Linked DNA regions of Homo sapiens: regions 1 and 2 are each linked to region 3. Evidence: promoter capture Hi-C in 16 types of primary human blood cells and fetal thymus (Javierre and others, 2016). All regions are on one chromosome and are shown on one strand. Each heading gives the region's core, a stretch centred on a gene start or on the middle of the fragment in contact. The rest is flanking DNA. Distances are from core to core; before and after follow the strand shown.

Region 1 (2,721 bases), core at 91-2,590, 270 kb after region 3:
ACAAAGTCAATCAAACAAAAGCAATTTAAAAGGAGAAATTAAAACATTCCCAGATTTTAAAAAAGCTGAGAGAGTTTGTCACTACTAGACTTGGCCTAAAAGAAATGCTAAAGGGAGCCTTTCTGGCTGAAAAGACACTAGACAGTAACTCAAATTCATATGAAGAAATTGGGAATTCTGGTAAAAATAATTACATAGATAAATATAAAAGCCAGTGTAATTATATTTTTGGTTTCTAACTCCACTTTTTGTTTTCTAACTTATTTATAAGACAAATGCCTAAAACAACAATTAAAATTCTATATTAATAGGCAAACAGTGTATAAAGATGTAATTTATGACTTTAAAAGGGAATGGACTGAGGTACATAGGAACAGAGTTTTTGTATGCTATTGAAACTAAGTAGGAATTAATTCCAACTAAGTTTTTATATATTTAGGATGTTAATTGTAATCCCCATGGTAAACATGGGGATAAATACTCATGACCTTGTATTTGCCAATAGAGTCTTAGAAAAGACACCAAAAGTAAAGGAAACAACAACAAAAATACATACATTGAACTTTGTCAACTTTTAAAACTTTTGTGCACCAAAAGACACTATCAAGAGAGTGTGCCAGGTGTGGTGGCTCACGCCTGTAATCTCAAACAGTTTGGGAGGCTGAGGTAGAAGGACTACTTGAGCCCAAGAATTCAAGACCAGCCTGGGCAACATAGTGAGACCCCATCTCTAAAAAAAAAAAAAATTAGCTGGGTGTGGTGGCACATGCCTACAGTCCCAACTACTCAGGAGGCTGAGGCAGGAGGATCTCTTGAGCCCAGGAGGTCGAGGCTGCAGTGAGCCATGATCACGCCATTGTACTCTAGCCTGAGTGACAGAACAAGACCCTGTCTCAAAAAGAAAAAAAAGAGTGAGAGAGTAAAAAGGTAACACACAAAATTGAAGGAAATTCTTGCAAATCATATATCTGATAAGGGATTAGTATCTAGAATATATAAAGAATGCCTAGAACTCAACACACAAGAAAACAAACAACCTAATTCAAAAAAAGGGCAAAGAACTTGAATAGACATTTCTTCAAAGAAGATATGCAAATGAATCTGGGTGTGGTGGCTCAAGCATATAATCCCAGCACTTACAAAAATTAGCCAGGCATGGTGGTACACACCTGTAGTTCCAGCTACTTGGGAGGCTGAGGCAGAAGAATTGCTTGAACCCGGGAGGCAGAGGTTGCAGTGAGCTGAGATTGTGGCACTGCACTCCAGCCTGGGTGACAAAGAGAGACTCTGTCTCAAAAAAAAAAAAAAAAAGATATTCAAATGGCCAATAATCACATGAAAGGATGTTCAACATCATTAATTTTTAGGGCAGTGGAAGTCAAAACCACAATGAGATACCACTTCACACCCACTAGGATGGCTACATTCAAAAAAATAGAAAATAACAAGTATTGGTGAAGATGTAGAGAATATGAAACCCTCAAATTTTGCTGGCAGGAATGTGAAATGTTTTGGTTACTGTGGAAAATAGTTTGGCAGCTCTTCAAAAAGTTAAACATAGAATTACTATATGACATCTATTACGTTCTTAGATACACACCCAACATTGAAATCAAGGATTCAAAAAAGTACTTATATATGCATGTTCATAGCACTGCTATTCACAATAGTCAAGGGGTGGAAACAACCCAAATGTCCATTAACAAGCAAATGGATAAGCAAATTGTGGTATTATACAAGTAATGTTGTTCAGCCATAACAAGGAGCTAAGAACTCACACATGCTACAACATAGGTGAACCTTGAAAGCATTATGTTAAGAGACAGAAGCCAAACACAAAAAAGATCATATATTATATTATTCCATTTATAGGAAATAGCCAGGGTAAGTAATTCCATAGAAATGGAAAGTAGAAAGATGGTTTTTCAGGGGCTAGACTGAGAGGGAAATAGGGAGTCATTGTTTAATGGATACAGAGTTTCCGTTTGGGAAGATGCAAAGATTCCACAGATGGAGGGTGGTGATGATTGCACAACCTTGTGAATGTTCTAAGTGCTACTGAATTGTTTGCTTTAAAATGGTTAACTTATGTTATGTGAATTTCACCTAAAACCCAAAACCTTGAAGAGAGATTTTGTCATCTCAGTTTTCTGATGAGAAATCCAATGTACCAGGAGGCAAGTAATTTGTTCCAGGTCGCACATGCCTTTCTTAGCAGTCAAGGTCAAGGATCACAGCTTCTGAATCTAAGGGCAAGCCATGGTTGGCCTCAACCTCAGGGGAAGTGACAGTAAAATCAGGAGGCTAGGGGAGAGGTGAGACACGATGTGTAGACTTCACCTGGATTTTATAGGCCTGGTGGCCTTGTTTGTTGGTTTGTTTAAAAAAAAAAAAAAAAAAAAGATTTTCCAAGGGCACACTCACCTTTACACATGTATTTTTTGTGCAAGTGCCAAAGTATTGAATGGATTTCGTAAACCCAACCATAAACCTCGGCAATGGCTCCCATAGGAGCTGCCGGCCACCAGCATGGAGAGTCTCATGAGCTGTGGCAAAGCCATGGCCCACCACACCCAGACTCCACCACCCACACCTCCCTCAGGTTACTGTCGCTGTGGGGGCCATAAACTCAGCATTTTATAGCATAGCCTGTTTTTTCCCAAATCAGTCACCAGCCCCATATATTTGCTATGTATGACCAGACTATTTAGAAATTTAAAG
Region 2 (2,826 bases), core at 42-2,541, 350 kb after region 3:
AATTTTAGATTCAAGGGGTACATACACCATTTTGTTACGTGGGTATATTGCATGATGCTGAGATTTGAGCTTCTCTTGAACCCATCACCCAAATAGTGAACATAGTACCCAGTAGGAAGTTTCTGAACCCTTGCCCCCTTCCCTCCCTGCCCCCTTTTAGCATTTCCAGTGTCTGTTCTTCCCATCTTTGTGTCTGTGTGCACCAGTATTTAGCTCCTACTTTTAAGTGAGAACATGGCAATATTTGTTTTTCTGTTTCTGCATTAATTTGTTTAGGATAGTGGCCTCCGTCTTCATCCATGTCGTTGCAGGGGACATGATTTGATTCTTTTTTATGGCTGTGTAGTATTCCATGGTGTGTGTGTGTACCGCATTTTCTTTACCTAGTCCTTTGTTGGTGGGCACCTAGGTTGATTCTGTGTCTTTGTTGTGCACAGTGCTGCAGTAAACATACAAATGCATGTGTCTTTTGAGTAAAATGATTTATTTTCCTTTGGTACATACCTAGGATTGCTGGGTCAAATTGTAATTCTATTTTTAGTTCTTTGGGAAATCTCCAAACTGCTTTCCACAGGAGCTGAACTAATTTACATTCTCACCAACAGTGAGCATTCCCTTTTCTCCACAACCTTGCCAGCATCTCTTATTTTTTGAGTTTTTAGTAATGATATAATATGGTATCTTATTGTGGTTTTGATTTGCATTTCTCCAATGATTAGTGATGCTGAGCATTTTCTCATATGTTTGTTGGCTGCTTGTATGTCTTCTTTTGAGTGGTGTCTGTTCATGTCCTTTGCCTAGTTTTTAATGGGGCTATTTGTTTGTTTCTTGTTGATTTAAGTTCCTTATAGATACTGGGTATTAGTCCTTTATTGGATGCGTAGTTAGTCCTTTATTGGATGCGTAGTTCACACATATTTTCTCCCGTTCTGCGGGATGTTTCTTTACTCTGTTGATAGTTTCTTTGGCTGTTCAGAAGCTCTGTAGTTTAATTAGGTCCCACTTGTGAATTTTTGTTTTTGTCACTTTTGCTTTTGAGAACATAGAAAATTCTTTGCCGAGGCCCATGTCCAGAAGAGTATTTCCAAGGTTTTATTCTAGGATTTTTATAATTTGAGGTCGTACATTTAAGTGTTTAATCCATTTGGAGTTAATGTTTGTATATTGTGAGAGATAGGAGTTCAGTTTCATTCTTCTGCACATGGTTAGCCAGTTTTCTTAGCGCCATTTATTGAGTGGTCTTTCTACTTTGTTTATTTTTGTCGACTTTGTCAAAGATCAGTCGGTTGTATGTATGTGGCTTTATTTCTGGGTTCTCTATTCTGTTCCATTGGTCTGTGAGTTATTTTGTTTATTTTTATCAGTATCATGCTGTTTTGGTTATTGTAGCCTTGTAGTTTTATGGGAGCTTTTGTTTGGTTTGGTTTGATTTTGAGACAGGGTGTCACTCTGTCGCCCAGGCTGGAGTGTGCAGTGGCACAATCTTGGCTCACTACAGCCTCCACCTTGGGAGCTCAAGCAATTCTCCTGCCTCAGCCTTCCAAGTGGCTGAAAGTACAGGTGCGTGACACCATGTCCGGCTAATTTTTGTATTTTTTGTAGAAATGAGGTTTCACCATATTGCCCAGGCAGGTCTCAAACTCCTGAACTCAAGCAATCCACCCAACTCAGCCTCCCAAAGTGCTAGGATTACAGACATGAGCCACCGTGCCCAGCCTGTAGTATAGTTTGAAATTGGGTAATGTGATGCCTCTGACTTTGTTCTTTTTGCTTAGAATTGCTTTGGCACTTCAGGCTCCTTTTTGGTTCCATGTGAATTTTAGAATAGTTTTTTCTGAATCTGTGAAGAATGATGTTGGGAATTTGATAGGAATAGCATTGAATCTGTAGATTGCTTTAGACAGTATGGACGTTTTAACAATATTGATTATTCCATGAGCATGGGATGTTTTTCCATTTGTGTCATATATGATTTCTTTCAGCAGTGTTTTTTAGTTCTTCTAGAGATCTTTCACCTCTTTACATATATTCTTAGGTATTTTATTTTTTCTGTGGCTGTTGTGAATAGGATTGCATTCTTGAATTGGTGCTCAGCTTGAACATTATTGGTTTATAGAAATGCTACTGATTTTTGTAAATTGATATTGTATCTTTACCAAAAATACATTTTTCTTTATATACTATGTATATAGAATTGTTTCTCTTATATCTAGTAATTTTAATAACATATTAACTATTTTAACTTTTAGTAACCCTAATTTCAAGTGAAAACCCTAAGATTACTTAATATAACATGACTTTAAGATTTAAAATTACTGAAGAGAATTTTGAAACTAGTTTTATTTACCAAGGATTACTAAAGTTGTGTGAACTAAAGGGCATTTGAGCGAAATTCTGTTTTTTTTAAATAAAATAATTGATTTAAGCACTTACTTTTCTTTGGTCAGTTGATTAGAGCTCTTTCGTATATTTTGGTAGTGATACATCACATACACATGACACATATATAGACATACAAACACACAGAAGCAGATCTTGTAGATTTATAAGATTCTTCATTTGCCAGTTTTCACTTTCTCTCCCCCTCTTAGACTATCAGTCATTTCCAAAGTCATAACAAAGTAGACGAAACAAGGTAGAAAATTTACATCTCAGAGGCACAGAAGCTATACCTAAACACCATTACCTGAAAACAAGTTGATTGCCAGAAGGAGGTTGCAGTGAGCCAAGATTGCACCTCTGCACTCTAGCCTGGGCAACAGAGCGAGACTCTGTCTCAAAAAAAAAAAAAAAAAAAAAGTGTCCTCTTTTCAACTTAACTTGTTT
Region 3 (2,779 bases), core at 51-2,550:
GACTTGGATAAATGTGTAAGAATATCATCAGTGGCATTGATCATGATGGCCACCCTAGGAACAACCCAAGTGTGCATCAAAAGACAAAACAAAAAATGACAAATGGTGATGTATTTAAATAATGAAGCAACAGAAAACCAAACACAGCATGTTCTCACTCATAAGTGGGAGTTGAACAGTGAGAACACATGGACACAGGGAGGGGAACATCACACGCTGGGGCCTGTCAGGGGTGGGGGCCAGGGGGAAGGAGAGCATTAAGACAAATACCTAATGCATGCAGGGCTTAAAACCTAGATGATGGGTTGATAGGTACAGCAAACCACCACGGCACATATATACCTATGTAACAAACCTGCAGGTTCTACACTGGTATCCCAGAACTTAAAGTAAAATAAATAATAATAATAATGTAGCAACACAACAATGGAAATGAAAAAAAGTATCTACACAGAAATGCATCAGTGAATCTTATACCCATAAATGTTGCATGAAAGAAGCAAGGCACTGGAGAATACACACAGTATGCATGGTTCAATTTATATAAGATTCACAGATGAGTAAAATGAAACTGAATTGTTTGGGGATCTCATAGGTGGTAAATTTCTAAGGAAAAGCCAAGAAGTAACCCCCATCTGAATCAGGACTGTGACTGCCTCTAATAGGGAGGAAGGGAATCATGGCTCAAAAAAAAACACATGGCAAACTTCTGGGCGAGCCAGCAAAGTTCTATTTTTTTTTTTTTTGTCTGATTTCTGTTTCTTGCCTTCAAGGCCACAAAGATGGGTGGGCATGAATCACACCACACTGCCCTGGGGTTTCGCTTCCCTGGGACTTTCTGTTGGTGGTGATGGATACAGCTTTGCTCAGAGAAAAGGCACCAGATGGAACTGTAATTCTACCCCACTGCTCTTCTATGTCAGTCACTGGCTCTGTGTCCCACCAGCTCTGTGATCCAAGCCTCGGTTTTCCCATCTGTTCAAGGGGCATGACGGCCCCCATCATGCCTAGCTCATAGAGTAGAATAATGAATGTTAAAGGGCTCTGGGAGCTAATGCCTGAATTCCAGAGATCAACGGGGACTCGAAGGACAGCCAGACCTCTGCAAGGCGGCAGGGAAAGTGAGGCTGAGCTAAATCCCACAGGGCTGGCCCCACACCGCCTTGCCCTTCCCTGCGCTACCCGGAAGAAGAGGTGGGTACAGCTGGCAGGCTGGCAGTTGAGTTCAATATACCATGTTTCACCAGCCAATGGGCTGGGGCGATCAGAAGCAGGTCACACAGCCTGTTTCCTGTTTTCAAACGGGGAACTTAGAAAGTGGCAGCCCCTCGGCTTGTCGCCGGAGCTGAGAACCAAGAGCTCGAAGGGGCCATATGACACTCCTCCCGGACCCCTGGACACACACAGCCCTGGAGACTGGAGGTCAGTATTTGATCCCAAGCTCAGCTGTCCTCTGCCTGCTGTGGCCTGAGTCCCCTTCTCCTGGGGCCCTGCCTGGCACCTGCTGGGGGCAGGGTGGGAGGGGGAAGAGTTAGTGACAGCCACTGTGTCTGGAGCTCTCCTTAGCACACTGAGGCAGAGGAAGGGACAGCTCCTGGACCTTCCATCACCTCCATTCCTTTTGAAATGCTAGGCGCTTGTACAACCCATCTTGGGCCTGGAGAATAAGTCACCACACCTGTGTTTCTCAAAAGAACAGTGTCAGGGAACCCCTGCCTCAGCACAGCCTTAGAGGACTCATGGAAAATGCAGAATCCAGGCCTGTTCAATGGCACCTTCCTATGTTAGCAGCCAGGAAACCTGCTCTTGGACAAGCCCCTGGGATCCCACCCCCACCCCACCAGGGGATTCTTACACACACTGGGTTGGGAGCCCCTGGCTTTGGCAAGGCTTCTCAGGTGAGCGTCCAGTTGTTGGAGGGTACCCACCCTTTCCCCAAGAGAGGCAGCCACACATCCAACATCCTGGGATCTCTGTCTCCCAGCGTGGGCCATGTGCTTTATTTCACCCCCTAGAGGCTCATCCCCCATGAAAAGTCCTCCGCAGGCCCTCAGAAAGATAGTGTGGCCTCTGTGTGCCCAGCAGAAGAAGGACTGGACTTGGCAGTCAGCTCTTGGAGAGGGGGTGGTTAGGACACCTGGGGACAGGAGGAGGAGAATGACTGTCTGTGCACACACGGCTGGAAGGCAGAGGAGGCTGGGAAGCTGCTCTGTCCCCTGGGCCAACTACAGGCCCCCAGGCCAACAGCAACAACACTTTTAGTATTTTGTTATAAAGTCAAGAAATCTTTGCTACAGAGGGTGAGGAGAGGGAAGGAAAGGGCCATGGAACCGTCTATGTGGCTATCCCCAGAGAGCTTTTAGAGTGACAGGATTGCTTTCCCATTTCACAGATGAGGAAACTGAGGCCTGGAGAGGGATGGGAAGCTACCCAAGGCCCCATGGATACACCAGTGCACAACTCTTTCCTTCCCCCTCCTCTTTAAATGGGTGACTCCCAATGAAACCTGTAAGAGACAACCATAAGGGAGCTGACTGTGGCTGCTGAATTTGATTTTATTCTAAGGCCTGGTTTTATAATCAGCTTTCTCAGTCTTTACTGGAGTGTCAAGCCGAGGCATCATTTCTAGGGTCTTACAGGGTCTCTGGGCCAATAGTGCCCTGCTTCTGACCTGGAGCCAGCTGCCTGGTCATGAAAGCAGATCTGCAAAGGCTGGGGCCCCTGAGGCCAAGGCCACTCGCCATCACCCATTTTACAGAAGTGCTGAGCATAGGAGTGC

The links. Contacts are between HindIII fragments. The CHiCAGO score rates a contact against its expected background, and 5 or more counts as called.
Region 1: a contact is called between a fragment that was not itself captured here and the fragment with the promoter of SNX20 in region 3, in 1 of 17 cell types (total CD4 T cells). The highest score is 5.6, in total CD4 T cells.
Region 2: a contact is called between a fragment that was not itself captured here and the fragment with the promoter of SNX20 in region 3, in 8 of 17 cell types (activated CD4 T cells, total CD4 T cells, non-activated CD4 T cells and 5 more). The highest score is 13.3, in activated CD4 T cells.

The regions. Positions count from the first base shown.
Region 1 is chr16:50,410,540-50,413,260 of GRCh38, reverse strand. No RefSeq gene overlaps it. Among named protein-coding and RNA genes, the nearest start is that of LINC02178, 17 kb to the right of the region's middle. The HindIII fragment of the contact is 4,017 bases long and covers 1-2,721 here.
Region 2 is chr16:50,330,311-50,333,136 of GRCh38, reverse strand. All of the region lies in intron 8 of BRD7 (bromodomain containing 7), which reads left to right. Among named protein-coding and RNA genes, the nearest start is that of BRD7, 37 kb to the left of the region's middle. The HindIII fragment of the contact is 6,524 bases long and covers 1-2,826 here.
Region 3 is chr16:50,679,833-50,682,611 of GRCh38, reverse strand. It overlaps SNX20 (sorting nexin 20), which reads left to right and starts at 1,300. Exons shown (of 4, transcript NM_182854.4): 1 at 1,300-1,422. The HindIII fragment of the contact is 15,976 bases long and covers 1-2,779 here.